Regions from separate parts of the Homo sapiens genome. Here all the other regions are linked to region 1. Evidence: promoter capture Hi-C in human tissues and cell types (Jung and others, 2019). All regions are on one chromosome and are shown on one strand. Each heading gives the region's core, a stretch centred on a gene start or on the middle of the fragment in contact. The rest is flanking DNA. Distances are from core to core; before and after follow the strand shown.

Region 1 (3,894 bases), core at 575-3,074:
TCTTCATCATATTGCTTGACAGGCTTACACTGCAGCCTGTGACATACCAGATTTCTCCAATTATTAGATGACTACAAAACACACTGCCAAGACCAAAGCATATCAGAGAATCAGTTACTAGGCTGATGGTTTGCCATAAGAACTGCTTCACACTTGTCCAGGATGAAGCAAAAATCCTCCTTTCCAGTCTCTCCATCAAGGTCCCTGGATAACAGTTAACACACTTTGAGGGTCCCTTTGAGTAATTATTGGCCCAGTTACTAAAAAAGGCTTATTGTTAATTTCCTGCACAGAGGCCTTTACTGCAGCACTTTTTTTTTCCTCCGCAGCACATTCAATTTGACCTTTCAAAATCTAAGACATTAGTTAGCTGCAATGAAAGGGAAAATAAACGACTAGTTAAGGAGTCGGAACCTTGACTCAATGGCTTCATATAGCTGAGTGTTCCTCCTGCTATTTCCAAGATTTTCTGTTTCCTGGCTCCAAGACACCCCCACCCTTCCATCTTTGATACATTCTGTTTTACTTAAGGCCAATTGCTATGACGACGCAATTTCTCAACACATTATGAAAATACTTCATATGGCCTCTCTCCTGTTCTTCCCGAACAGCCATGATGGTAAGTTTTTCTAAAATAACATGATGAAGACAGAACAAAGGGCTTAAATATTTTAGGATCTATTATATAAAAGAGATCTGATTAGATGTTGGAACAGTTCAAGCATCATCTCAACCCAGCTTTCTGAGCTATTTAGGCTTTTCATTTAAAACATATTCAACTTTTAACAAGGCGCTTATTTAAAATATATTTTACTCTAGTACATCAGAGACTTTTGAAAGCGATGTTCTAGGGGAAGCGTCTAATCAAATTCTCAGGGACAGCTTTCAAACAAAAGACTGTTCTATCATTCAACAGTGGTATGGTAGAATTTTTGACACTGTATCTCGACTCGAAAGACCCAGTCCCAGGAAACACACACACAAACAAGAACGCTAAGCTATTAAGTTATTTGATTTGAGCCACATACCATGCAAGCACTGCATTTACCTATTATTTACAAGCAAATCACAACTAGGAAGAAAGAAAAATGTTTATTACAAGGAAAGAAAAGGAGACGGCCAGTCTCAGACCCTTCTGCGTTCAGAGAGACGGCAGAGATTCGCCATGCAGGATGAAATTAAGGTCAGAGAGCCGTTTACGCTATGCTCGGGCTCCCCGGGCTCTTCCTCCCTCTACGGCTGGCCGGCATTGCTGGTGCGATTCGGAAGAACGAGCTGCAGAAGTCGCTCCCGGCCGAGGGAAGGGACCGGGGGCGGTGCGGGGAGCGTTCTGCAGGGAGGCGGCTGGCGAAGATCCCGACGAGGGAGCCCCCACCCACCTGCCGCAGCCGGATGGGGCAGGGCAGGGCCGCGCCGCAGCCAGGCTTGGGGGTGGTTGGGAGGGACCCGGCGGCCTCGCGCCCCCTCCCCCCGTCAGTGACATTCCAGCGGCGGCGCCGAGCCTCGGCCCGGCTGCTCCTCCGCAGCCCACGCGCCACAAAAGCAGCGGCAGCGGCTTCCCCCACTCAGCCGAATGGAGGCAGCCCCGCGGCCCGCCCGGCTCACCTGTCCGCGCGCCGGCCCCGCCCCGCCTGAAGAGCTGCCCAGCTCCCACCCGGGGGTCGGCTGCCCGGGGCCCCGCTCCCTCCCGGAGCTCCCCGGCTGCCCCTCTCACCGGCTCTCGGGGGGTGAGGGGCGTGGGTGCGTCGGGCCGAGGGGTGCTGAAGGACCGAGGAGCCTCCGCGGCCTCCGCTCCACACCGTTCACTCCGCAGCGGGTAGTGGCGGCGACGCGCGCGCCCCGCCTCTTTTATAAGCGGCTACGCGCGCTCCCGCGGCGGGCGGGCGCGAGCGCCGGGGGAAGCGCCCCGGCGCTGCGCGAGGGGTGGGGGAGCGCGCCGGCGGAGCAAAGGGGGCGGTGCTCCCGCCGGCTCGCCGCCCGACCGCCCGGCGGAAAGGGCCGAGCGATCCCGGAAGGAGCCGAAGCGACAATGCGGGGGAAGAGGTGAGCGAGGGGCGGGCCGCGGGAGGATGGGGAAATGGGGCGCGCGCAAGGGGTGAGGGGTGATGGTGCAGTGAGGTCACTGCCTACGCCCTGGCGGTAGAGACGCTCCCGCCTCACCTCCCTCCCCGCAGCTTGCGCCCCGCCACCGCCCGCCCTGCGGACAGTCGTCTGCATCGCACCACTCCGCCCTGGGAGCTCTTCCAGGACTGCGGAGAAGGGCGGGGCGGGGGTATCGCTGCAGTCTGGCTGGGGATGCTGCGCGCCCCGGCCGGAAAAACGCCCAGTCCCAAAGGGTGAGATCACCCGAGTGCGTCTCTTCCTGCTCACTTTCCCGAGGAGGAGGCTGGCGCTGGGGTCCCAAGTCAGCCTAATTCGGTGGGGGCTGGGGTCAAGAAGACGCGGATGATTTGGGGCCCCGGGTTTGAGGAGGTGGTGAGAGGAAAAGGCCAAATCCGAATCAGAAAAAAAATTAAGTCGACTAATTTGGGGCATAAAGCTGTCATTCTGGGATTTGGAGAGTTAATTTCTTATGTTCTTGGAGATTATGGGGGAGGAAACGGCAGCGGCAAAATAATAATTTCTTACATTCCTGCAACAAAAGCTTTCTCACAGGTCGCCAGTGGAATAGGCTACATTCATCCTATTTCATAAACAAGACATTAAGGTTCTTTCTGGCACAATTAATCGAACTTGCCTTGTGTACTAGGCACTATGCTAAGTATTTCGTGTTACCTTTTCATTTCTTAATCTTTGCAATAATTTTATGAGATGTTTTCCCATTTTACAAATGGGCACTCTTACATAATGCTCATGTAGGCTAAGTCTCTTGGCCCAGGTCAGGCAGCTACCAATTGGAAGAGCTAGGATTTACATCTCAGCAGTCAGAACCTTCCCTTTGCAACCGTATGTGTATTGCCTTCAAATAGGAAAGGGAGGCATTTTGATGCGGGTGGCTGCTGGGGTGCAGAAAGAGAAAAATAAGATTCTCAGAATTTCTGATACTTAAAGTCCTAGCAGTTTAAGGTCCTGGCTCTAAACTCTGTAGCCAGAAGCCCTGGATTAGGAAGCCCTTTCCCTATCCCCATTCCGGTGACAGCTGGGCCGCAGCCACTGGGAGTAACACCCAGATCATTCCTGTGCAGTCAGGCAGACGGGGAGCTCTGCAGCTTAGGAAGGCTTCAGCCTCCTGGTTACCAAGCAGCTCTCCTCTTTAAATAAATATAAAGTCATTGGACACTGCACCAGAATCTGGGCCCAGACCTGGCCCTGAGCTTCCTGGCCCTCTGCAGTTTGGCTTCTTTCCCCGTGCCTGGGACCTGCAATACGGTTTCTAAGCTGTCCTGGCTGTAGCCATGATACTGAGGAAAAATTTCCCTACCCACTCACTCCATTGGAGTGGAGAGAAAAGCAGTGACCACACCCCAGAAGCTGCTTTAGAGAATCTGTGTAGGAGAAACGTAGGAGCTGAGAGGCATTTCCTGCAATCTTCTATGTAGAGAAAACAGCGCTGAGCAACTCCTCCCTGGAGTGTGCATTTCTGAGAACAGCTGATGGTATCCGTGGCCTCTTCTCCAGCAGGTTGCAGTAAAATGTTTGATCAGATATTCAGCTCTGGGTACAAAATGGCTAACACAATTGTAGCTCCCTAAAATTTCCAAGACCTTCTGCTCCAGCAAAGAAAGCACCTTGGGACTGAGGGGCAGGAGCTGTTCAAAAGGGAGGGTTTTTCTATTAAATCACCCTGGCCCCATAGTGAACTGGGGGTTCTGCTGCTTTTGCTGGATGCAAAATGGAGACCTAAGAGAGAGCTCTGTATTGATAGAGAAACTAAAATCTTATTTGATTCTTTGT
Region 2 (3,894 bases), core at 872-3,371, 490 kb after region 1:
CAGGCTAAGCTACAGTAAATGAAATACTTGGGAAAATGGCAGCTACACCCGCCAAGTCAGACTGAAGGGGGAAGAGACAGAAGGGAAAGAAACAGCCTCTGCTCTGAGGTTCTCATACAGAAAGGCCAGCACTTCTCTTCCTGGCAGGCCCAGGGATGACCATTTCTCTGCGCCCCTATGCCCACACCTCGGCCAAGAGCCCACAATAGTAACAATCTCGCTTTGACTTTTAGAAAAAAAATTTCCCCCGGATTCTTTCACTCCGTCCACACTCCAACCCCGCGGGGATCACGATCCCATTTTCTGGATAAACAGGGCAATGGAGATGAGCCTAAACCATGAGAACTGTCAGTCTTCGCCGCCAACGTCCACACGGATCAGCCTGAAACCCCAATACCAATTTTTTTTTCAACTCCCACATGTTCCTGAGAGGAACCAGATCAGGGCCCACGGCTGGCATGGAAACGAGAGGGAAAGGAGGGGGTGCTGCTGGGGACTGATGGATGAACCCATCCTTGGGTGAAGGGAGCGTCCAGCTTGGCCTTGAGGTCAGGAGGTGACAAAGGCACACTCCTGAGACCTGGCCTTCTACTCTGGGCAAGAAAGGGCTTTTCGCCCATCAGAAAGCCCATAGGATGCCCACCTGTGTCCACGAAGAACCCGGCTCAAGCACCCAAAGAAGTCAGGAAGGAGCCCCGCTCCCACCAGGGCATAAGTGGGGTGTCCCTCAGTGAGTCAGGGGGCACCCTTCCTCTGGACAGTGGGGGTTCCGCCCAGCCCAAGGGGCCGTCCCCCGAGACCTGTCACCCGGCCCTCGAGGGGCTCCCTCCCCGCCAGTGCTGAGGACGCGCGCAGCCTACCTGGAGCTCGCCCTCGGTGCGGTGCAGTCCCAGGCGCCGCAGCCCCACCGCCAGGTCGTTGACACACAGGCCGCCGTCCCGGTTGACGTCGAGCGTCTGAAAGAGTCTCCACAGGCGCAGCCGGTGGTCCGGGCCCCCGCAGATAGCGCCGCCGCAGGGGTCCCCCACGGACGCCGGCGATGAGGCAGACGAAGAGGCGGCGGTGGCGGCGGCGTCCGGCGGCGGGGAGGCCACACAGCGGCACAACACACTGCTCACCATCGGGCGCGAGGCAGGGGCTCCGGGCGCGGGCGGGAGCGGGGGCGGCGGGCCGGCGGTGACCGCGCGGGAGGCAAGCCAGGCGCTCTGCAGCTGGGAGCGCGGGCTCGGAGACGCCGGCAAGCTGGCGGAAGGGGCGGCTTCCGGGAGCCCCGCCCCTCCGCGCCCCGCTTCGCCGGCCACGCCCGGGCGCACCGAAGGCCAGTCACAGGCTCGGATGGGGAGGAGGGAGGGGCGGAGCCTGTCTAAGGACAGCCCACGCGCCACGGACTACCCGGATCAATGGGGTGGGCGGGGTCACCCGGCTCCGCCTGGGGCCGATTCAAACTGAGGGAGGCGGGGATTGGCTGAGCCGGGGGCCAAGAGAGAGAAAATCACGCAGCGATAGGCATGAGTAATGTGATTGGCAGGCGGAAGGCCCCGTGTCCAGTTTCCATTGATGAACTAACTCTGTTTAGACTGCGGGATCTTAAGGATGGGAGGAGCGGTAGTGTACGGAGAGATCGTAGCCTCCAGTGGGAAACAGGATTTGTGTGAGAGCATTTGTGAACTGCAGTTGCGAGGCAGAGTTTGTGCCGGTGGGAGGAATTAAAAGTTAATTGACCCATGGGTCACGGCCGAAAGCACTAAGTATCCTCAGGAAGCAGGGTTTTGGTAATCTAACTCCCTAAACCACCAATAAAATAGCTGAATTTAACGGCTTAATAGTCGTAATACTGACAATTGAACGACAGAATGATTTTCCAATGGAAGTGAATAAAGGTTAGGTGGGCGGGGCCCTCTGGGCGACGGACACAATTTTAGACCAATGATCAGGCGAATTACAGTAAGCAGGCGTGCTCTTTAGCTGAGCGACAGATCGAAAGAACCAGTGATCGACGTGATATTTGAGCAGCTACCAACCGGGAAGGCCGGTTTTCCCGGAGAAGCGCTGGGAGGCGGGAAGAGGGGAAGTGGGCGGATCTCCGCACACCTCGGCGGAAGAGGCAGATTCAGGAAGCCATTACGCTGCTGGCTGGCAGCGGCCGGGCCGGTCGGGGCTGGGCCCTACGCACTTTGCGTAGCGAGGGGGGTTACCAAAGGCCTAGTGCTTGGCCTCGAGCAAGCCTGGCCTATCCCCTGTAGGGGGTGGGTGAGGGGCGAGGCTGAGGAAGAAGAGAAGGGGAATTGGGGCGCTTGAGGGGATTATAATTTCTTTAAAAAGAGGGGAGGGGAGAGGCCATGGCCGTCCCAGCCAAGAAAAGGAAGATGAACTTCTCAGAGCGGGAGGTGGAGATCATCGTGGAGGAGCTGGAGCTGAAGAAGCACCTGCTGGTGAACCACTTCAACGCCGGGGTACCCCTGGCCGCCAAGAGTGCGGCCTGGCACGGCATCCTGAGAAGGGTCAACGCCGTGGCCACCTGCCGCAGAGAGCTGCCTGAGGTCAAGAAGAAGTGGTCTGACCTCAAGACCGAGGTCCGTCGCAAGGTTGCCCAGGTCCGGGCCGCCGTGGAGGGTGGTGAGGCGCCGGGGCCCACTGAGGAGGACGGAGCTGGGGGGCCTGGGACAGGCGGTGGCAGTGGTGGCGGTGGCCCAGCTGTAGCCCCAGTGCTGCTGACCCCCATGCAACAACGTATCTGCAACCTGCTGGGCGAGGCCACCATCATCAGCCTGCCCAGCACCACAGAGATCCACCCTGTGGCCCTCGGACCCTCGGCCACCGCAGCCGCAGCCACGGTCACCCTGACACAGAGTGAGTGACCTCTCCTGCCCAGGCGGCGTGCATAAGTGGGAAGGGCCAGCAAGCTCTGGGGTGGCCTGGGGAAGGTTGGCTGCCAAGGGTCAGAGGTCAGATGGGGGTCTTGGAAGACCATGAGGCCTTCCAAGAGCAGCACCCAGACAGAAGTGATCTTGCTCTCTTTGGGACTTCCTCAGCACGTGGGCTGGACTTCTGACGTGCTGGATAGCTCGCCACTGAGCATTGCCACCATGTTTGTCCATGACTTACCTCCACTTGCCGAACTGGGTGGTCCTTGAAAACAAGAGACCGTGTCTGTATCCCCACAGGACTTTTCACAGGGCCCGGCTTGTAGTAGACAGCCAGGCCATATTTGTTGAAAAAATTGATGGGAATAATACTGCCCAAGTGAGACAACGATTCTGGATTCTGTTTTCAGTGTGGGGGATCTTTCATCAGGTGCTGCTCAGGAGCCTCATGGTTCCTGGTGTTAATCTACTCCATTCATTCATTCATTCATTCATCAAACATTAGCACTTATTCTGTACCAAACCCTGTGCTGGGCACTGGGATTACCAAGTTGTCTAAAATACAGGCCAGTTATGTTCTAGTAGGACAGAGATGACACATATAGGAATAGCTTCGCCATCAGTTGGGAAAACCTCAGGCCCCGGAAGAGGAAGGGGGCTTCTTGGTGGCATAAGGACACATAGCTGACATTGGCGTTGAAGGGTGGAGGAGCTTGACCTCTCCCACATGCGCGGAGGCCCATACAGCCCAGCCAGGATCCTTTCCGTGGTTCTCAGGAATGACAACAGAACTAACTTTGGTTGGATTTTTTAGTTCAAAGAAGAGTTTGTGCCCTGTTACCTCTGCTCGTTTGTGATGACCGTGAGCTGGATCATTCAGTGATTCTCAGTGGGGGTTGGGGGAGTTGGGTGGATGTGCGAGTGCCATCCCCTCACAATGCGTATTTCTCAAGAATACACTGGGGTGGGGTAAGGGGGACAAACACGGGTCTAGGTCAGATGCTGTTCTGGAACAGGAAGGATGTTTAAG
Region 3 (3,894 bases), core at 1-2,500, 420 kb after region 1:
TGAAGGAAGTGGGTGGAGCAAAACCCATATGGGCGAGTGTCCCAGCAGCTGCCTCAGTTTCCCTATCTGTAAAACGGGGCTGGGGACCTGCAGCTCTCACGGGACTGGTTACCCGCTCGCGGGTGCTCGCCCTGCATCCGAGACAGCACCTACAACTCCAAACCCACTCGGGGCGGGTCGAGGTGGGCCCTTCGGTCCCTTCGAAGCCAACATCCCGATTCCCCTTCCCGGGAAGGCACCCCCGGAAACGCCAAGGTCGCTCCAGCAGTCTCCTCGGGTCACCCGCTTCCCCGAAGCCGTCGTCCTCGCCTTCCGCTCTCGTCTTCACCGGCATACTCAGGTCCCCGCTGGGGACTGACACTGCGGGCTCGGTCGCCGCAAGGACTGGAAGGAAGGTGGAAGATGCGGGGCGAAAGCGGAGCGAGAAGAGTGGGACGCGGCGGAGCAGCAGAGCCGGGACTCAGAGCTCCCCCCTCGCCCCGCCCCTCTCCCCGCCCACTCTGCGAGTCCCGCCCCCTCTCGGGCGCCGGGCGGGGCCATCCCGGGGCTGTCCGCGGAGACGCCTATGCGGTGGAGGCTCCGGGCTTCAGCTAGGGCGGGGGAGCCCAGCAGAAGGACCGAGCAGCCTGGCACCCCACTTTGCCATCCTCTCCCTGGAAATCTCGGGGTCGGCGGGCCGGCCGCTTCGCGTGGGCGAAATCAGAGACACGTGGTTTCCAAGGCCCCTTCGGGTTCGGGAAAATTTTATGGTTCGGGTCACAGTAGGAAGCGGACAATGAGGCGGGAGGGCAGAGAGAACCGCAACACCTGGTGCCGGGTCGGGTCGTTTCCGGGGCTTTCAGTGGCCGGAAGTCGCGGCGCCTGTACTGACTCTAGGAAGGGCTGGAGTTGTTTTGAATGGGCGCCCGTAAGAGAGGTGGGCAAGTACGTGTTACAGACGGCCACGCCGCCCTTTAGGCGGTCAAGGTGGGGCGAGGAGACGTTCGCCCCCCTGCAGTCGGCCGGGTCACTACCCAAGAGCCTTTGGAGGCGGAAGCATGGAACGGTCTGCAAACGTTCCCGAGCGGGCCTCTGCGGCTCTGGCGGGCGTTTCGAACTTGGGCGCCGGGCACACGCCCAGTCCCGAGAGCGCTGAGGGTTCCCTTAGCGTCGCCCTCACCCCGGCCAACCCGCGGGGCGCCAGAGTCCTGGCCCTTTAAACGCCGCGCGTGCCTCGGCGTCTTCGTTTCGCGCGCCCGCCCGCGGCGCCGGCGGAGCGAACATGGACCCGGCTGCGCGGGTGGTGCGGGCGCTGTGGCCTGGTGGGTGCGCCTTGGCCTGGAGGCTGGGAGGCCGCCCCCAGCCGCTGCTACCCACGCAGAGCCGGGCTGGCTTCGCGGGGGCGGCGGGCGGCCCGAGCCCCGTGGCTGCAGCTCGTAAGGGGAGCCCGCGGCTGCTGGGAGCTGCGGCGCTGGCCCTGGGGGGAGCCCTGGGGCTGTACCACACGGCGCGGTGGCACCTGCGCGCCCAGGACCTCCACGCAGAGCGCTCAGCCGCGCAGGTAAGGCCTGGCCCGGCCGGGGATGGGGATGCTGATCAGCGCCGAACTCGGGACTCCTGGGAACCCGCAGGGTCAGGAGTTGCCTCTGCCTGCTTGTGACCTTGGGCGAGTGACTTGGTCTGAAGTCTCCGAACCCTCTGTATTCTTTTGTGTAAAATAGGGGCACTCCTGATGCCTACTACCTGGAATTGTTCGAGTTCTCATAAAATCGTTCTTCTACCGTGGTTTTTTTTTTTTTTTTTTTTTTGGTTTGTTTATTTATGTTTTCGAGACAGGGTCTCGCATTATCGCCCAGGCTGGAGTGCGATCGCGGCTCACTGCAGCCTCTGCCTCCCAGGTTGAAGGGATCCTCCTGCCTCAGCCTCCCGAGTAGCTGGGACTATAGGCTCACCCCACTGCGCCCTGCTAATTTTTGTATTTTTTGTAGAGATAGGGTTTCACCATGTCGCCCAGGCTGGTCTCGAACTCCTGGCCTCAAGTGATCCGCCCACCTTGGCCTCTGAAAGTGCTGGGATCACAGGCGTGAGCCACTGCGCCCAGCCTTTACCATGTTTTAAGGAGACTTTTTTTTTTTGAGACGGAGTTTTTTTTTGCTCTGTTGCCCAGGCTGGAGTGCAGTGGCGCGATCTCGGTTCACTGCAACCTCCGCCTCCTGGGTTCAAGCAATTCTCCTGCCTCAGCCTCCCCAGTAGCTGGGATTACAGGCGCCTGCCACCCAGCCCGGCTAATTTTTGTATTTTTACTAGAGACGGGGGTCTCACCATGTTGGCCAAGCTGGTCTCGAACTCCTGACCTCAAATGAGCCACCCGCCTCGGCCTCCCAAAGTGCTGGGATTACAGGTGTGAGCCACGGAGCCCAGCCTCTACCGTGTTTTAAGACTTTTTTGATTAAGAGATGGGAGATCACAGGAAAGGGAAAGCCTTTTTCACTTTCCAAACGTTCATCATCCTCTCTCCCCACTGCCCCCAAATCCTAAGGCTGTGTATTTATTTAGTAGTAGTGGTGGTACCTTTATGGAACTGATGACTTAGACTCCAGGCTGAAACAGGAAGAGGTAGAAAGGTGCCCCCCCCAAGTGGTGACCCCCTAAGTGGTGGCCCAGCTGCCTTGAGACACTTTATACCTACCCCACACCTTGCAACTCTTCATTACTTGACTTCCCACCACCCGCCCACAGATGCTTATTTGCTGGACCAGAGGGAACAGAGGTGGGTAAAAAGGGCATGGAGTACTCTGTGTCTCCCTTCCTGCCTCCACGGTCCAGCTTCCCCTCTGAACACAGGGGGATGGTCTACAGTTGTGGCTTCCCGGCATGAACGTGCAGCAGGCTCCCCTGGGGGCTTTCCTGCGGAGCTTGCCACACGCAGGCCTTGGCTCAGATACCACCCTCCCCCTCGGATATTTGAGATAGACTTTGGCTGGAGGATCACATGAACCCCGGAGTTCAAGGCTGCAGTGAGCTGTGATCAAGCTACTGCACTCCAGCTTGGATGGCAGAGTGAGACCCTGTCTCCAGAGAAAAAAACAAGAAAGAGATTGGAGGTAGACCCCACTGGTGAACATGAGCCTGGGTGGTAGCCCAGCTCTGCCCCCAGAGGTCCCTGGGGTTAGAGGAGTGAGAGTGAACAAGTCAAGTTGAAACAGTTGTTCCATGTCTGTGGGAGTGGGGTGTATACCCTGGGGCTGTCTGGTGTCCCCTTGGGACTGGAGTGAGAAAAGAGGGGTCTGTCCAGTATGGGACAGAGACTAGAAGATTCCTCCTACACAACCTCGCAGCAAAGGGTGGGACTCCTGCTTGGGGACCGTGCTGGCCAGGGGCTTAAACCTGGGCTGCTGTCCAGTGCCTCCCTTTCCCCTACCGCCCCCTTCCATCTCTAGTTCCTCTTCCCGATGTTCTAGCGTCATTTCAGAAGACTCCTCTGGAAAACACCCTTGGGGGCAGGGCCTGGGCCTGGGGGTGCCAGGTCTAGAAGCCTTTTCCGTCTGCTGCCCGCAGCTCTCCCTGTCCAGCCGCCTGCAGCTGACCCTGTACCAGTACAAGACGTGTCCCTTCTGCAGCAAGGTCCGAGCCTTCCTCGACTTCCATGCCCTGCCCTACCAGGTGGTGGAGGTGAACCCTGTGCGCAGGGCTGAGATCAAGTTCTCCTCCTACAGAAAGGTGCCCATCCTGGTGGCCCAGGAAGGAGAAAGCTCGGTGAGCCCCAGGGAACCCCCTGCATCCTTCCTCCTTTCCTGGGTTGTCCTGGAGCGCCCCCTAGCCTGGCCTGGCTCTGCAGCCTGGGAAGGAACTTGTGATCCTTGTGCCTGTAAGGACTATGGGGGAAGTAGCTGCATACGGTAGATGCTCAATAAA
Region 4 (3,894 bases), core at 934-3,433, 350 kb after region 1:
TTCACCTTCTGCGGCTTTTGGGGTGCTTTAGCAGTGTCTGGGGTGCGCGGATGCTGCGCAGAATATATTTGTCAATGGGTTGGGTCTCACTCCTAGTACCAGGCCTCTTGGAGAGTGGTCTGGATGTTTCACTCCATCTTACCGATGAGGAAACAGGCCTGGAGAGCAGATGGGCTTCCTCTGAGGTCACAGCCTCCTGACCTCAGAGGTCAGAACTCCGAGATGAGTTCCCCTTCATCTCGCTGGCTTCTATCCCTAGATCCTGACTCTGATCTCCAACATGTCCTCTTCTGCCTTTGGTCCTCAGTTTCCTTGTTTCTAGAAGGAGAAAGTTGGAACATGAATTCAACAAATATTTACTAGGTACCTGCTAGAAGCCAGGCCCTGTCCTAGGCACTGAAGATTCAGCAACGAATAAGACAGCCAAGGCCTCTGCCCTCATAGATCTTGCATCAAGCTGGGGAGACAGACAGTAAATAAGTAAGCAGATAAATGAAATAGTAAAAATGAAAATAATTCATAGTAAGAGGGATGGAGGAAATAAACAGGGTGAAAAAAGGTATCTTTGTGGGTGTGGAAAGTTCACATTGGCTTGGCAGGAGTCGGGGGTGTTCTCTGCAGAAGTGACATTTGAGAAGAGACCAAAATGATGAGAAGGAGCCAGCAGCAAGCAGATCAGGGGAAGAGCATGCCAGGCTGAATGACCAGCAAGTGCAGAGGCCCTGACACCTGGAGGGCCCTTCTTGGGAGAGTTGGAAGCTCTTGTCCTAGAGAGTGGAAGTCTTTGCTCCAACCCATCAGGATGGTGGTAAAACAGCGTAAAACAGTGGGATTCAAATCCAGGGCTCCTACAATCCTACCCTGCGTACCCTTTCACACAGACAGACCATGGGGCCCTGAGCCCAGCCGTCCATCTCTGCATTTAAGAAACCTAATTAGTATTCACGGTGGAGGCTAGGAAGGGAAGGCTAGCCTACACTGTGCTCATGGGGAGTCGGTGAGTCATTTCCCTGCGCTGTGAACAGTGTGGGGGCACTGCTGACAAAGTGGTCTGTGAATTGGAGACTGTTCACTTACTCATCCATTTAATGCGTATTTGTTGAGCCAGGTACTATGCTAGACTCCAGAGATAAAGCAGTGAGCAAAACGGACAAAGTCCTTACCCACATGTGGCTGACAATTCAGTGGAAAAAGACAGACAATATGCAAATAGGGCAATAACGATGGCCCTGTTAGATGGCGTGCCCTGCAGAGCAAGAAAGCAGGGGCGGGGTAGGGTGGTGTTGCTATTGTGAAGATGGTGATCAGAGAGTGACCCTTGTGGGGAGGAATCTTCGAGGCAGGCATGGGGAACAAGCAGGCCCTCTCCCTGGTAGCACCAGAGAGTGGATTAGGAGTCTAATCTGGGCCTTAAACAAGCTGCGTGACCCAGGTCCCTCCACGTCTCTGAACCTCAGTTAACTAATCTGGATAATGGGGATAATAATAGATCAAATGCCTGTGTAGGGCACAGCCCAGGCCTAGTGCTCAGGGGGCCCTTATTAAGCTGCAGCTGTGAGGATGCCAATGATAACAGCTCACCAGACAGCTGGAGCATCAGTGCCACACAACTTGCATGGAACCTGGCAGCTGTTCCATGCCAACCTGTTATTATGCTCTGAGGACAAGAGAAGGCAGAGATGGAAGCCTGGATGACTGGCACCAGGAGGGGGTGCAGTTTATAGATGTTTGCCTAGAGGGCATCATGGCTGGGCTTTTAATATTATTTATTTACTTATTTATTTTATTTATTTTTGAGACGGAGTCTCACTCTGTCGCCAGGCTGGAGTGCAGTGGCATGATCTCAGCTCACTGCAACCTCTGCCTCCTGGGTTCAAGCGATTCTCCTGCCTCAGCCTCCCGAGTAGCTGGGACTACAGGCACGTGCCACCACTCCTAGCTAATTTTTGTATTTTTTGTTTGTTTGTTTGTTTTTTGAGACGGAATCTCGCTCTGTTACCCAGGCTAGAGTGCAGTGGTGCGATCTTGGCTCACTGCAACCTCCACCTCCTGGGTTCAAGCAATTCTCCTGCCTCAGCCTCCCAAGTAGCTGGGACTACAGGCTCGTGCCACCACGCCCGGCTAATGTTTTGTATTTTTAGTAGAGATAGGGTTTCACCGTGTTAGCCAGGATGGTTTCCATCTCCTGACCTTGTGATCTGCCTGCCTCTGCCTCCCAAAGTGCTGGGATTACAGGTGTGAACCACTGCGCCCGGCCAATTTTTGTATTTTTAGTAGAGATAGGGTTTCACCATGTCGGCCGGGATGGTCTCGATCTCTTGACCTTGTGATCCTCCTGCCTCAGCCTCCCAAAGTGTTGGGATTACGGGAATGAGCCACTGTGCCCAGCCTATTTATTTATTTATTTGAGACGTAGTCTCGCTCTGTCTCCCAGGCTGGAGTGCAGTGTCGTGATCTCAGCTCACTGCAACCTCCGCCTCCCAAGTTCAGGTGATTCTCCTGCCTCAGCCTCCAAAGTAGCTGGGACTACAGGCATGCACCACCACGCCCAGCTAATTTTTTGTATTTCTTTCTTTTTTTTTTTTTGAGACAGAGTCTTGCTCTGTCGCTCAGGTTAGAGTGCAGTGGTGTGATCTCAGCTCACTGCAACCTCTCCCTCCCTGGTTCAAGGAATTCTCCTGCCTCAGCCTCCTGAGTAGCTGGGATTACAGGTGCTCGCCACTGTGCCCAGCTAATTTTTGTATTTTTAGTAGAGACGGGGTTTCATCATCTTGGCCAGGCTGGTCTCAAACTCCTGACCTCATGATCTGTCCGCCTCAGCCTCCCAAAATGCTGGGATTATAGCTGTGAGCCACCATGCCCAGCCAGCTTTTATTATTTTTACTTTTTCCCCCCTAATTACAATATTGAAACTTATTGTAAAACCAGACTTTACACAAGTATTTGAAAACCTCTGGTCATCCTCCCACCTAGAGATAACCACTATAGCTTAGGGATCGTTCTCTGGCTTTGTTTTTCATATATGCACATATTCATTTTGTTCCATTTTGTTTTTACAGAAATGGGATTATACTAAGTATCCTATACTGCTGTATCACTGATGCCAGGCCAGCAGCCTGGCATCACATGGAGTTGGTTGAAAAGAAGAATCTCAGGGCCAGGTGCAGTGGCCCACACCTGTAATCCCAGCACTTTAGGAGGCCAAGGCGGGTGGATCACTTGAGGCCAGGAGTTGGAGACCAGCCTGTCCAACATGGCGAAACACCATCTCTACTAAATATACAAAAATTAGCTGGGCATGGTAGCCCGCACCTGTAATCCCAGGTACTCGAGAGGCTGAGGTGGGAGAATTGCTTGAACCTGGGAGGCAGGGGTGGTGGTTGCATCGAGCCGAGATCACACCATGCACTCCAGCCTGGGTGACAGAGCAAGACTCCATCTCAAAAAAAAAAAAAAAAAGAAAGAAAGAAATGGCTTCTTTACTCTCTCTTGAGCTCCCAAAGCTTTTTTGTTTTTGTTTTTTTGTTTGTTTTTAGAGATAAGATAAACCTTGCTCAGCTGCCCAGACTGGAGTGCAGTAGCACAATCGCAGCTCCCTGTAGCCTCAAACTCCTGGGCTCAAGTAGGCTTCCTGCCTCAGCCACCCAAATAGCTGAAACTACAAGTGCACACCACCATGCCCAGTTAATTAAAACAATTTTTTTTTGTACAGACGGGATCTTGCTTTGTTGCCCAGGTTGGTTTTGAACTCCTGGTTTCAAGTGATCCTACTGTTTTGGCCTCCCAAAGTGCTGGCACTATAGGTGTGAGCCACCATACATGGCTGAGCTCCCAAAGTTTTGACCACCAACTGTGCTGGGCAGAATTTTTTTTTTTTGAGACAGAGTCTTGTTC
Region 5 (2,848 bases), core at 349-2,848, 330 kb after region 1:
GGCACCTCCCAGGTGCTGCCAAGCATCCCCTGGGCTCCATAGGTATGGCCAGAGGTACGAGGGACCAAGCCCCTGCTCCGTACAAGACCCCTATTGAGTTCAGATCCTCTTCCCAGGGATGCTCCCCTGCTCCTCGGCCTCACTGAGGCTGCCTGCTCTCTCCCAGTGCCGTCTTTGTCCACAGCCTTGGGTTCTCCTAAGGAGCTGACCCAGGCCAGGACAAGGCCAGGACCTCATCCACCCATCCTGTTCAATTCTACGTTTCCCAGTGTCCCAGAATTTGCTTCATCCTGACTCCAAACCTCAGTACCATTCCCTATCTCTAGGGTTGCCGCATCCAGCTGCCCAGGCCATGCACTGCACAACTCCAGGGGGGTCCATTCCCGTAAACCGTGGCGCAGAGGCTGCCTCCTAGGGTTGCAGTATAGCAGCCTGACCTCCCTCTCCAGCTCCCTGCTCTAGTCCCGCCCCTCCCTTTCTCTTCAAGGGGCATTCCTGGCCTCTCCTCCACAGGGGTTTGGTGGAACCAAAAGACAGAAAGAGAAGAGGAAAGACAGAAAGAGTAGAGGTAGTGATAGAGAGGGGCCGGGACAGCAGTGGGGAGAGGAAAGGAAGGGAGGCTGGAGGGTGGAATCGAGGAGCACTGGACTTGGAGTCCAGAGCCGTGGCTTCAAGTAACAGCTCTGCCACCTCCTGACTACTGTGACTTGGGCAAGCCACTTGATCTCCTGGAGCTTCAGTGTTCGTGCTGTGAAATGGGCACCGTCCTCCCTGTCCTGCCTCCCTGCGTGCTTCTGTGAGGCTTGGATGGTGGGGCAGATGGGAGAAGGGCTCTATCCCTGGAAAGCCAGATGTGGATGGAAGGGAGGGAGAGGCCCTGAGTGAGGGTCTTACGTGAGCATCCTGTGTGAGGGTCCTGAGTGAGGGTGAGATGAGTATGGGGAGGATGAAGGACAGCGGGGAGCCAGGGCACCTGCTAGTCCTGGGTCCTCTGCACCCCCTCTGGCCACCCAGGCCCACCGAGCAGTGCCCGAGAAGGCCCTGCATTTCACCTGTCTCCAAGGCTAAGGTTTCCCCAGACCCCTCCCTGGAGCTCCCAAAGATGACACCTCCGAGGACAGGGAGGGGGCTCAGGGTCCCCTCAAGCCCTATTCTCTGAGCTGGGGGAGCTCTTGGTGGGCTCTTGGGGTAAACAGCCAGCCATCATCCCCGTCTCACCCATGTCCAATCCCTGGGTCCCCAGACCTGGGGGCCAGGGGTGGGTGAGGCCCTCTCAGAGGCACATTGTCTCCTATTCAGTGGTGGCCTGCCTCCCCACCCCGCTGAGGTCTGTACATGCTACCGAGGAGGCAGGGGGGGACATGGGGAAGGAGCGCCTGGCAGCAGTGCAGGGCGGGGCAGAGGCGGTGGGGGCTGGCCCGGGCCTCCGGGTTACCTTCTTGGTGCACTGTCTAACGGTGCTGATTAGCTCCGAGATAACCATGTCCACACACTTGAGACACGGTTCTCGGATCTTCTTCACCTGCTTTTTCACAATGGTCTCAAAGGCCATGTCTGGGGTAAACAGCCCCGTTCTGAACGCCCGGAGCGGGAGAAGGGCAGAGTGTCACAGGCCAGTGCCGGCCAGGAGGGCCAGGCCGAGGCTCCTCCCCAAGCCCACGAACTCTGCCTGAGGGGCCCTTCCACTACCCCTCTCTGGGCCTCAGTGTCCCCAGTTGTAAAATGGGAGGGAGGGGTTCTAATGAAGGGTTTTTTGTTGTTGTTGTTATTTTTTTTGAGACGGAGTCTTGCTCTGTCGCCCAGGCTGGAGTGCAGTGGCGCAATCTTGGCTCACTGCAACCTCCGCCTCCCGGGTTCACGCCATTCTCCTGCCTCAGCCTCCCAAGTAGCTGGGACTACAGGCGCCTGCCACCACGCCCGGCTAATTTTTTCGTATTTTTAGTAGAGACAGGGTTTCACCGTGTTAGCCAGGATGGTCTCGATCTCCTGACCTCATGATCCGCCTGCCTCGGCCTTCCAAAGTGCTGGGATTACAGGCGTGAGCCACCGCGCCCGGCCCTAATGAGGCTCTTTGGGGCAAGACAAGGTGGTTGAGTATCTGATATGTAAGTCCTGCTTCCTCGTAAGGGTCTGTGCATATAGGAAGTTCTATGGCCAGAAATGGCTTGAAAATTGCCAAACGTGGTTCTCCATAAGAGCCTTTCCAGGAATAGAGTGTTTTGTTTTAAGACTAGGAAAGAGATCTTTTTTCTGTGAATTGGCCAGTGCAGTTATCAGGAAGTAAATTCCATGCCAAATCTTGGAAATGAACCTGCATGAGAGCAAGGGGACACTGGGTCTTGTTCACTGCTTGGCATAGGGTAGGTGCTTTAAATTTTCCGGCCCAGTGGATTTGTTGGATGAACACAGCATAGATCTGGGTCCCTGAAGGGGATCTAAGCTTTTAAGGAACAGATTCCACCTCCCAATCCTGTTTCCTACTCCACGGGTTGCCTAGAAGGAGGGCGGTGGGGTGGAATGGGACTGACTCTGGGCTACTGTGAATACAGGAGGGTGTGGAGGATTGCAAAGTCCCCGGCCGTCATAAAAGGACACAGCCTCATACTTAGATGCTCCACCCCAGGCCCTCGTAGTGGTTTGGACATCTTTGTCCGGTTACCTGGGTGGCACTGGGGGAGCTATCTCACCCTGGGGATGGGCCCAGCCCCAGAGGGTGTTTCCCCGGCCACCTGCGCCCTGGGCTGTGCCCAGTTGGCCCAGCAAGTTGCAGTAGGCGGGGTGGCCCGGGTCCACCTCCCCAAGCTGGAGCCTGTCATGCAGGGAGCCAGAAAGTTGGGGTCGAGAGGAC
Region 6 (3,894 bases), core at 1,027-3,526, 310 kb before region 1:
CATGCTGAGTGCTGCGTTAATCATCCAAGTGTATATTTTTGTATATACGTGTGAATATTCCTGTAAGATCAGCTTTTAGGGCTGGGTGCACTGGCTCACACCTGTAATCCCAGCACTTTGAGAGGTCAAGGTAGGAGAACTGCTTGAGCCCAGCAGTACAAGACCAGCCTGGGCAATGTAGTCAGACCTTGTCTCTACTAAAAATAAAAAGTTAGCCCAGCATGGTGGCGTGCACATGTGGTCCCAGCTACTTGGGAAGCTGAGGTGGGAGGATGGCTTGAGCCCCAGAGGTGTAAGCTGCAATGAGCCATAATTGTGCCACTGCACTCCAGACTGAGTGACAGAGCAAGACCCTGTCTCAAAACAAACAAACAAAAAACTTTTAGGAGAGGAAGTGTTGAGTCAAAGAGTGGTATGTGTTATTATTAAATTGCCCTCCAAAACTTACACCAGTGAACACTCTTAACCTAGTGCTTGCTTTTCAAATCACAAATTCTCACCTTTTAGTACATTGTAGGATCAGTTTGGTGGGTCTCAAGTTTGTCTTGGCCCATCTGAGAGGCAAAAAATAGTACTTCGCTTTCATTTACGTATCACTAATTATGACTAATTTTCAGCATCCTTTCAAGGTTATTGACTTTTTTTTTTTTTTGAGACAGAGTCTCGCTCTGTCACCCAGACTGGAGTGCAGTGGCACGATCTCAGTTCACCACAACCTCCGCCTCCTGGGCTCAAGCGATTCTCCTGCCTCAGCCTCCCAAGCAGCTGGGATTACAGGCGCACATCACGGCTAATATTTTTTATATTTTTAGTAGAGACAGGGTTTCACCATGTTGGCCAGGCTGGTTTTGAACACCTGGCCTCAAGTGATCTGCCCGCCTTAGCCTCCTAAAGTGCTGGGATTACAGGCATGAGCCACTGCGCCCGGCGACTATTTTCTTTTCTTTTCTTTTCTTTTTGAGACAGAGTCTCGCTCTGTTGCCCAGGCTGGAGTGCAATGGCACGATCTCAGCTCACTGCAACCTCCACTTCCCAGGTTCAAGTGATTATCTCACCTCAGCTTCCCGAGTAGCTGGGATTACAGGTGCCTGCCACCACACCCGGCTAATTTTTGTATTTTAGTAGAGACAGGGTTTCACCATGTTGGCCAGGCTGGTCTCAAACTCCTGACCTCAGGTGATCCGCCTGCCTCAGCCTCCCAAAGTGCTGGGATTACAGGCGTGAGCCACCACACCCAGCGACTATTTGCTTTTGTGAATTTCCCATTTATATCTTTTTCACACTTTTTCTTATTGAGATGCTGGTCTTTTGTTGTCGATTTATACAAATATTTGCATATTAAGGCTCATATTATATTAAAATGGCCCAGTTACTTGTTTGTCTCCTTGATTAGATTGTGCGCTCCTTGGAGGAAAGGAAGGTATCCTATCACCCTTGTATACATGGTGGCTAGCTTAGGGAATGAATAGCACATAATAGGAATTCACTGAGGAGATGTACACTTACCATATGGCAGGCTCTGTGCAAGATGTTGAGAATAAAAAGATGAACAGAAGAGAATCTTTGTTCTAACAAAGCTTACAGTCTGGTGCAAGCGATAGACATTCATTCTCATTCTGCAGGTTTATTGAGCAGCTGCTCTGTGCCAGGTGCATAACGCCCATTGGAAGAGCCAGCCTATTAGGATGAGAAAAATGTCAGGACTGGGACTTCGCTAACCTGGTCCTGGGAAATCTGGGTGGGTCAGTTCCCCATCCCTGGTTATCAGTATCCCCATCAATAAAATGTGAGCCACTGGACCAAATTCTCTCATTTCCCATTGAGCATCCATGCATCTGTGCTGCTTTGGCTTTTGGAAAGTAGGAGTCAGAGTCCTGAGTTCAAATATTGGCTCTGTGCTGGGTGTGGTGGCTCACGCCTGTAATCACAGCACTTTGGGAAGCCGAGGTGGGTGGATCACCTGACGTCAGGAGTTTGAGACCAGCCTGGACAACGTAGTGAAACCCCACCTCTACTAAAAATACAAAATTAGCCTGGTGTGGTGGTGCATGCCTGTAATCCCAGCTACTTGGGAGGCTGAGGCACGAGAATCGCTTGAACCCGGGAGGCAGAGGTTGCAGTGAGCCAAGATCGCACCATTGCACTCCAGCCTGGGCAACAAGAGCGAAACTCTGTCTCAAAAAAAAAAAAAAAAAAAATATATATATATATATATATATATATATATATATATATATATATATATATATGTAGGCTCTGCTACTTGTTAGCTGTGGCCTTGGGTGTGTGACTTAGCCTTTTTTTTTTTTTTTGGTGTGGGAGGGATGTGGGGAGGGACATGGTCTTGCTTTGTCACTCAGGCTGCAGTGCAGTAGTGCAATTATGGCTCACTTCAGCCCCAACCTCCAGGCTCAAGTGATCCTCCCACCTCAGCCTCCCGAGTAGCTGGGACTACAGACGTGCACCACCACTCCCAGATAATTTATTATTTTTTGTAGAGATTGAGTCTCACTACGTTGCCCAGGCTGGTCTCGAACTCCTGGGCTCAAGGGATCCTCCTGCCTTGGCCTCTCTTGCAGGCATAAGCCACTGTACCTGACCACTTAGCCTCTTGAAGGAATCTTTCTTATAGGATTAAAAGTGATGGGAAGCCAGGAGCAGTGACTCACACCTCTAATCCCAGCACTTTGGGAGGCCTAGGCAGGCGGATCACTTGAGGTCAGGAGTTCTAGACCAGCCTGGTCAACATGGTGAAACCCTGTCTCTACTAAAAATACAAAGATTAGCTGGACATGGTGGTGCACAACTGTAGTCCCAGCTACTCGGGAGGCTGAGGCACAAGAATCACTTGAACATGGGAGGCGGAGGTTGCAGAGAGCTGAGATCGCGCTGCTGCACTTCAGCCTGGGCGACAGAGCACGACTTTGTCCCCCAAAAAATAAGTAAATAAATAATAAAAGTGATGGGACCTGATTTCAAGTAGTCAAAATCGCAGAGACAGCAAATGGGCTGGGCTATGGGCCAGAGGGTAAAGGGATGTAATTGTTTAATGGGTACAGAGTTGTCAGTTTTACAAGATGAAAACAGTTCCCAAAACTGTATACCTGTACATAGTTAAGATGGTAAAGTTTATGATATGTGTATTTTACCAAAATTTTTTAAATGAAAAACTTTTTTTTTTTTTTTTTTTTTGAGACAGAGTCTCGCTCTGTCGCCCAGGCTGGAGTGCAATGGCGCAATCTCGGCTCACTACAATCTTCGCCTCCCGGGTTCACAACATTCTCCTGCCTCAGCCTTCCAAGCAGCTGGGACTATAGGCACCCGCCACCATGCCTGGCTAATTTTTTTTTCGTATTTTTAGTAGAGACGGGGTTTCACTGTGTTAGCCAGGACAGTCTCGATCTCCTGACATTGTGATCCACCTGCCTCGGCCTCCCAAAGTGCTGGGATTACAGGTGTGAGCCACCGCGCCCGGCCTGAAAAACATTTTTAAGTGGTGGGACGTGTAGGGCTCCACGGGGCACCTAGCACAGGAAAGCGTGTGGTAAATAAAAGGTGACTGCCAGGGCTGTTGAGGAGCTGACTAGGGAAGGCCTGCTTCCTAGAAAAGGGGTGAGGCGCAGGGCATTGGAGGGAGGTGTGCCTGGGAGGTCAGGAGTCCTGCCTTATGCGGGAACCTGGAGCAGCACCCTCCCTGCTTTGGGCCTCCTCTGTGAAGTGAGGCGTAGTCCCCTCCTGGGGCCAGCAGGTTGCTCTGTGACCTGGGCCAGCAACCTCAAAGCCACGAGGGGCCTGGCTCCTTGCGCCCCCTGCTGGCCGACTCGGGAATAACACACCCACAAGCCCCCAAGTTGCTCCCAACCAACCTGGCCAAGTTGCTGGGTTAAGGCAGCC
Region 7 (3,894 bases), core at 755-3,254, 300 kb before region 1:
AGGCAGGAGAATCACTTGAACCCAGGAAGTCGAGGCTGCAGTGAGCTGAGAAGGCACCACTGCACTCCAGCCTGGGTAACAACGTGAGACCCTATCTCAAAAAAAAAAAAAAAAAAAGAAGAAAATAAAAAATTTATATGTGTGTATTCTGTGAGATAGAGGTCCAAATTCATTCTTTTCTTTTCTTTTCTTTTTTTTTTTTTTTGAGACAGAGTCTCACTTTGTCTCCCAGGCTGGAGTGCAGTGGCGTGATCTCGGCTCACTGCAACCTCCATCTCCCAAGTTGAAGCAATTCTCTGCCTCAGCCTCCTGAGTAGCTGGGATTACAGGTGCCAACCACCATGCCTGGCTAATTTTTTGTATTTTTAGTACACCATCTTGGTTTCACCATCTTGGCCAGGCTGGTCTTGAGCTCCTAACCTCATGATCAGCCTGCCTCGGCCTCCCAAAGTGCTGGGATTACAGGCATAAGCTGCCACGCCTGGCCCCAAATTCATTCATTTACATGTGGATATTTAGTTGTCTCAGCACCATTTGTTCATTTGTTGAAAAGATTATTATTTCCCACCCCCCACCCCCGCTTTTTTTTTGAGCCGGTGACTTGCTCTGTCACCCAGCCTGGAGTGCAGTGGTGTGATCTCGGCTCACTGCAACCTCCGCCTCCTGGGTTCCAGCGATTCTCCTGCCTCAGCCTCCTGGGTAGCTGGGACTACAGGCATGTGCCACCATGCCCTGCTAATTTTGTATTTTTCGTAGAAATGGGGTTTCACCATGTTGACCAGGCTGGTATCGAACTCCTGACCTCAGGTGATCCGTCCACCTCAGCCTCCCAAATTGCTGGAATTACAGGCATGAGCCACCATGCCTGGCCTCCCCACCTTTTTTTTTGAGACAGTCTCATTTTGTCGCTTAGGCTGGAGTACAGTGGCACGATCTTGGCTCACTGCAACCTTTGCCTCCCAGGTTCAAGCAGTTCTCCTGCCTCAGCCTCACAAGTAGCTGGGACTACAGTCATGTGCCACCACACCCAGCTAATTTTTTGTATTTTTATTAGAGATGGGGTTTCGCTGGTCTCAAACTCCTGACCTCAAATGATCCTCCCGCCTTGGCCTCCCAAAGTGTTCGTGTTACAGGCATGAGCCACACCCAGCCTCCCAATTTTTTTTTTTTTTTTTTTTTTGAGACAGAGTCTCACTCTGTCACCCAGGCTGGAGTGCAGTGAGTGGCGTGATCTCGGCTCACTGCATCCTCCACCTCCTAAGTTCAAGTGATTCTTCTGCCTCAGCCTCCCAGTAACTGGGATTACAGGTGCACACCACCATGCCTGGCTAATTTTTGTATTTTTAGTAGAGACGAGGTTTTAGCATGTTGGCCAGGCTGGTCACAAACTTCTGACCTGAAGTGATCCACTCGCCTCAGCCTCCCACAGTGCTGGGATTACAGGCGTGAGCCACCATGCCTGGCCCCCATTTGAGTTTCTTAGCATCTTATCAAATAGCAATTGTGACCATTTATTTCTGGACTGTCAGTTCTATTCAATTGACTTATATATCTATCTTTAAGCAGTATCACACTTTCTTGGTTCCTGTATGTTTGCATTAAGCTTCCAAATTGTGCAGTGTGATTTCTTCAATTTTTTTCTTCTTTTTCAGGCATTTACTTTTTTTTTTTTTTTTTTTTTTGAGACATATCTCCCTCTGTCGCCCAGGCTGGAGTGCAGTGGTGGGATCATGGCTCACTGTAGCCTTGACCTCTCCAGGATCAAGTGATTCTCCCACTTTAGCTTCCCCAGTAGCTGGGACTACAGGTGTGCACCATCACACCTGGTCAATTTTTGTATTTTTGTAGAGACGGTGTTTCAGTATGTTGCCCAGGCTGGTCTCAAACTCCTGGGCTCAAGAGATCCTCCTGCTTTGGCCTCCCAAAGTGCTGAGTTTACAGGTGTGAGACACATTGCCCTGCTTGAATTTGTTGATTGCATCTCCATGGTGTTATTTAACATGTTCTTCTGTCCCTGTATTTTAGTCATTCAACAGTGTGATCTAATTTAGGGCCACTTTTACAGCAGGAATAATTTGCAGGTGGTGTATGTGTTTCCAGAGTCAGAACATGTTTGGTTTATGCTCTTGGTGATATTCAGGGCTATCAGTGATCCTCTCCTGGATCATTTTTTAATTAGAGGTGATTTGTGTTTTGAAAGGGTCACTTGGGTTGCTGGGGGGTGTATTGTATATGAGTAACAGGGTTCTTATAAGGACGGAGTCGGATAATCATGCAACAGAGCACTTGGTGCTATTCCTGGCACGCAATGACCATATTGTTGTTGTTGTTGTTGTTGTTGTTGTTGTTATTGTTAGAGCTGTGTGTGGGGGACCCAAGTCCTGAGCTCGGAGGCATTTTCTGGCCAGGGCTGTTTCCTCCCTTCTCCCCTGCCTCTGGAAAAGTCTGCAGTGCCCCAAGGCTCTGGGAGGCATGTTCAGGACTGCAGCAGCCATCTCTGTGCACCTGGTGGGGCCCCTTCAGGGAAGGAAGGCTGGAGCCCCACTCACTTGGTTCTTGCACCAGACTGTAAGTGCCCTAACCCCAATACTCTGCCACCTGCATGGCCTGGGGCTTCTGGGGTCTGGCTCGTTCCTGGCTTCAAAGCTGTGCATGAGCCTTCTCTTTCAGGGAGCCCTCTTTAACTGCAGCCTGTATGTGGGCTTCTCCCTTGCCCCTGCTTCTCTAGTCTAGAACTTGTAGCTCTGCATCTGAATAGTCAGCTTGGGCGCTGTAGGGTGCTGCTTCCCATGATCCCCTGTGCCCATCCCAGAACCCAGTACCTGGTAGGGACTCAATAAATGTCAACTGAGCCAGGCGCGGTGGGGTTCCTGGGCCATGGAAGACCTGGCACTTACTCAAATGGTCCCAAGGCCCCTCCAGGACAGGGGGGCCTGGTGTTGAGATTACTGTGGCTGCCACCCTGACCAGGTCCTTGCCAGCTTCTCTTCTGACCCTGGGCAGGTACCTGAGCCTCTTCAAGCCTCAGTGTCCTCATCTGTTAGATGGAGACTATTGTGGCACCTCTAGTGAGAGTGCAGTGGGAACTGAGCGAGGTGGAACTGAGCAAAATCCTGAGCCAGGGTTCACTATTGACCACAGCAGGTGGCTGAGAAGAATGTTGGATCCCCAGCTCCACGGCCCACCAGCCATCTGGGACTGGCAAACCCACAGGAACGGAAGGTTCCTCAGGGACCACAAAGCCCATGTGAGGTCCCTGCTGCTGAAGGGATTCTGAGGACAGGAGGAGCCAAATTACCTATCCAGGGTCACCCAGCCAAGGTGGGTTAGGACCTGAGTTTGGTGGCTCTCAGGTCTGGCCAATTTCTTTCTTTCTTTTTTTTTTTTTTTTTTTTTTTTTGGTAGAGTCTTGCTCGTTGGGTCGGGCAGGAGTGCAGTGGCTGGCACGATCTTGGCCCACTGCAATCTCCATCTCCCAGGTTCAAGTGATTCTCAGGCCTCAGCCTCCTGAGTAGCTGGGATTACAGGCATGTGTCATGACGCCCAGATAAGTTTCTTTGTTTGTTTTTCCCAGACTGAGTTTCACTCTAATGCTCAGGCTGGAGTGCAGTGGTGTGCTCTTGCCTCACTGCAATGTCTGCCTCCCAGGTTCAAGTGATTCTTGTGCCTCAGCCTCCCAAGTAGCTGGGATAACAGGTGCGTGCTACCACGCCCAGCTAATTTTTGTATTTTTAGTAGAGATGGGGGTTTCACCATGTTGGCCAGGCTGGTCTCGAACTCCTGACCTCAGGTGATCTGCCCGCCTCAGCCTCCCAAAGTGCTGGGATTACAGGCGTGAGCCACTGTGCCCAGCCCCTGGCCAGTTTCTGCACACCAGTGGCTGAGGAGGGAGCT

Evidence for each region. The method cuts DNA at HindIII sites, captures the fragments that hold promoters and counts their contacts. A contact is called where the count stands out against the background at its distance.
Region 2: the fragment with the promoter of NAIF1 here is called in contact with the fragment with the promoter of SPTAN1 in region 1 in 2 of the 25 tissues and cell types used here (aorta and hippocampus).
Region 3: a contact is called between the fragment with the promoter of PTGES2 here and the fragment with the promoter of SPTAN1 in region 1, in 1 of the 25 tissues and cell types used here (bladder).
Region 4: a contact is called between a fragment that was not itself captured here and the fragment with the promoter of SPTAN1 in region 1, in 1 of the 25 tissues and cell types used here (hippocampus).
Region 5: a contact is called between a fragment that was not itself captured here and the fragment with the promoter of SPTAN1 in region 1, in 1 of the 25 tissues and cell types used here (liver).
Region 6: a fragment that was not itself captured here is called in contact with the fragment with the promoter of SPTAN1 in region 1 in 1 of the 25 tissues and cell types used here (heart right ventricle).
Region 7: a fragment that was not itself captured here is called in contact with the fragment with the promoter of SPTAN1 in region 1 in 3 of the 25 tissues and cell types used here (aorta, hippocampus and lymphoblastoid cells).

The regions. Positions count from the first base shown.
Region 1 is chr9:128,550,517-128,554,410 of GRCh38, reverse strand. SPTAN1 (spectrin alpha, non-erythrocytic 1) reads right to left here and starts at 1,824. Exons shown (of 57, transcript NM_001130438.3): 1 at 1,715-1,824. It overlaps LOC101929270 (a long non-coding RNA gene), which reads left to right and starts at 1,998. Exons shown (of 4, transcript NR_188457.1): 1 at 1,998-2,043. RefSeq lists a silencer at 1,411-2,180. The HindIII fragment of the contact is 8,229 bases long and covers 1-3,447 here.
Region 2 is chr9:128,065,547-128,069,440 of GRCh38, reverse strand. It overlaps NAIF1 (nuclear apoptosis inducing factor 1), which reads left to right and starts at 2,121. Exons shown (of 2, transcript NM_197956.4): 1 at 2,121-2,850. The coding sequence starts at 2,340. SLC25A25 (solute carrier family 25 member 25) reads right to left here and starts at 1,209. Exons shown (of 11, transcript NM_001330988.2): 1 at 861-1,209. The coding sequence starts at 1,121. RefSeq lists enhancers at 103-182, 1,933-2,262 and a silencer at 913-1,482. The HindIII fragment of the contact is 18,346 bases long and covers 1-3,894 here.
Region 3 is chr9:128,125,085-128,128,978 of GRCh38, reverse strand. It overlaps PTGES2 (prostaglandin E synthase 2), which reads left to right and starts at 1,250. Exons shown (of 7, transcript NM_025072.7): 1 at 1,250-1,540; 2 at 3,538-3,735. The coding sequence starts at 1,262. It overlaps PTGES2-DT (PTGES2 divergent transcript), which reads right to left and starts at 450. Exons shown (of 1, transcript NR_024425.1): 1 at 1-450. RefSeq lists silencers at 240-349, 380-579, 1,220-1,509 and enhancers at 890-1,009, 1,650-1,729. The HindIII fragment of the contact is 32,314 bases long and covers 1-2,910 here.
Region 4 is chr9:128,199,350-128,203,243 of GRCh38, reverse strand. It overlaps a transcript of CIZ1 not described here. Among named protein-coding and RNA genes, the nearest start is that of DNM1, 2.1 kb to the left of the region's middle. RefSeq lists a silencer at 1-22 and an enhancer at 83-182. The HindIII fragment of the contact is 4,461 bases long and covers 1-3,894 here.
Region 5 is chr9:128,222,977-128,225,824 of GRCh38, reverse strand. It overlaps DNM1 (dynamin 1), which reads right to left. Exons shown (of 22, transcript NM_004408.4): 10 at 1,436-1,574. Among named protein-coding and RNA genes, the nearest start is that of MIR199B, 20 kb to the left of the region's middle. The HindIII fragment of the contact is 4,555 bases long and covers 1-2,848 here.
Region 6 is chr9:128,863,664-128,867,557 of GRCh38, reverse strand. All of the region lies in intron 1 of KYAT1-SPOUT1 (KYAT1-SPOUT1 readthrough), which reads left to right. The region is part of intron 1 of KYAT1 (kynurenine aminotransferase 1); the gene reads left to right. Among named protein-coding and RNA genes, the nearest start is that of KYAT1, 16 kb to the left of the region's middle. RefSeq lists an enhancer at 3,674-3,894. The HindIII fragment of the contact is 3,497 bases long and covers 528-3,894 here.
Region 7 is chr9:128,846,107-128,850,000 of GRCh38, reverse strand. All of the region lies in intron 1 of KYAT1-SPOUT1 (KYAT1-SPOUT1 readthrough), which reads left to right. The region is part of intron 1 of KYAT1 (kynurenine aminotransferase 1); the gene reads left to right. Among named protein-coding and RNA genes, the nearest start is that of SPOUT1, 18 kb to the right of the region's middle. The HindIII fragment of the contact is 3,862 bases long and covers 74-3,894 here.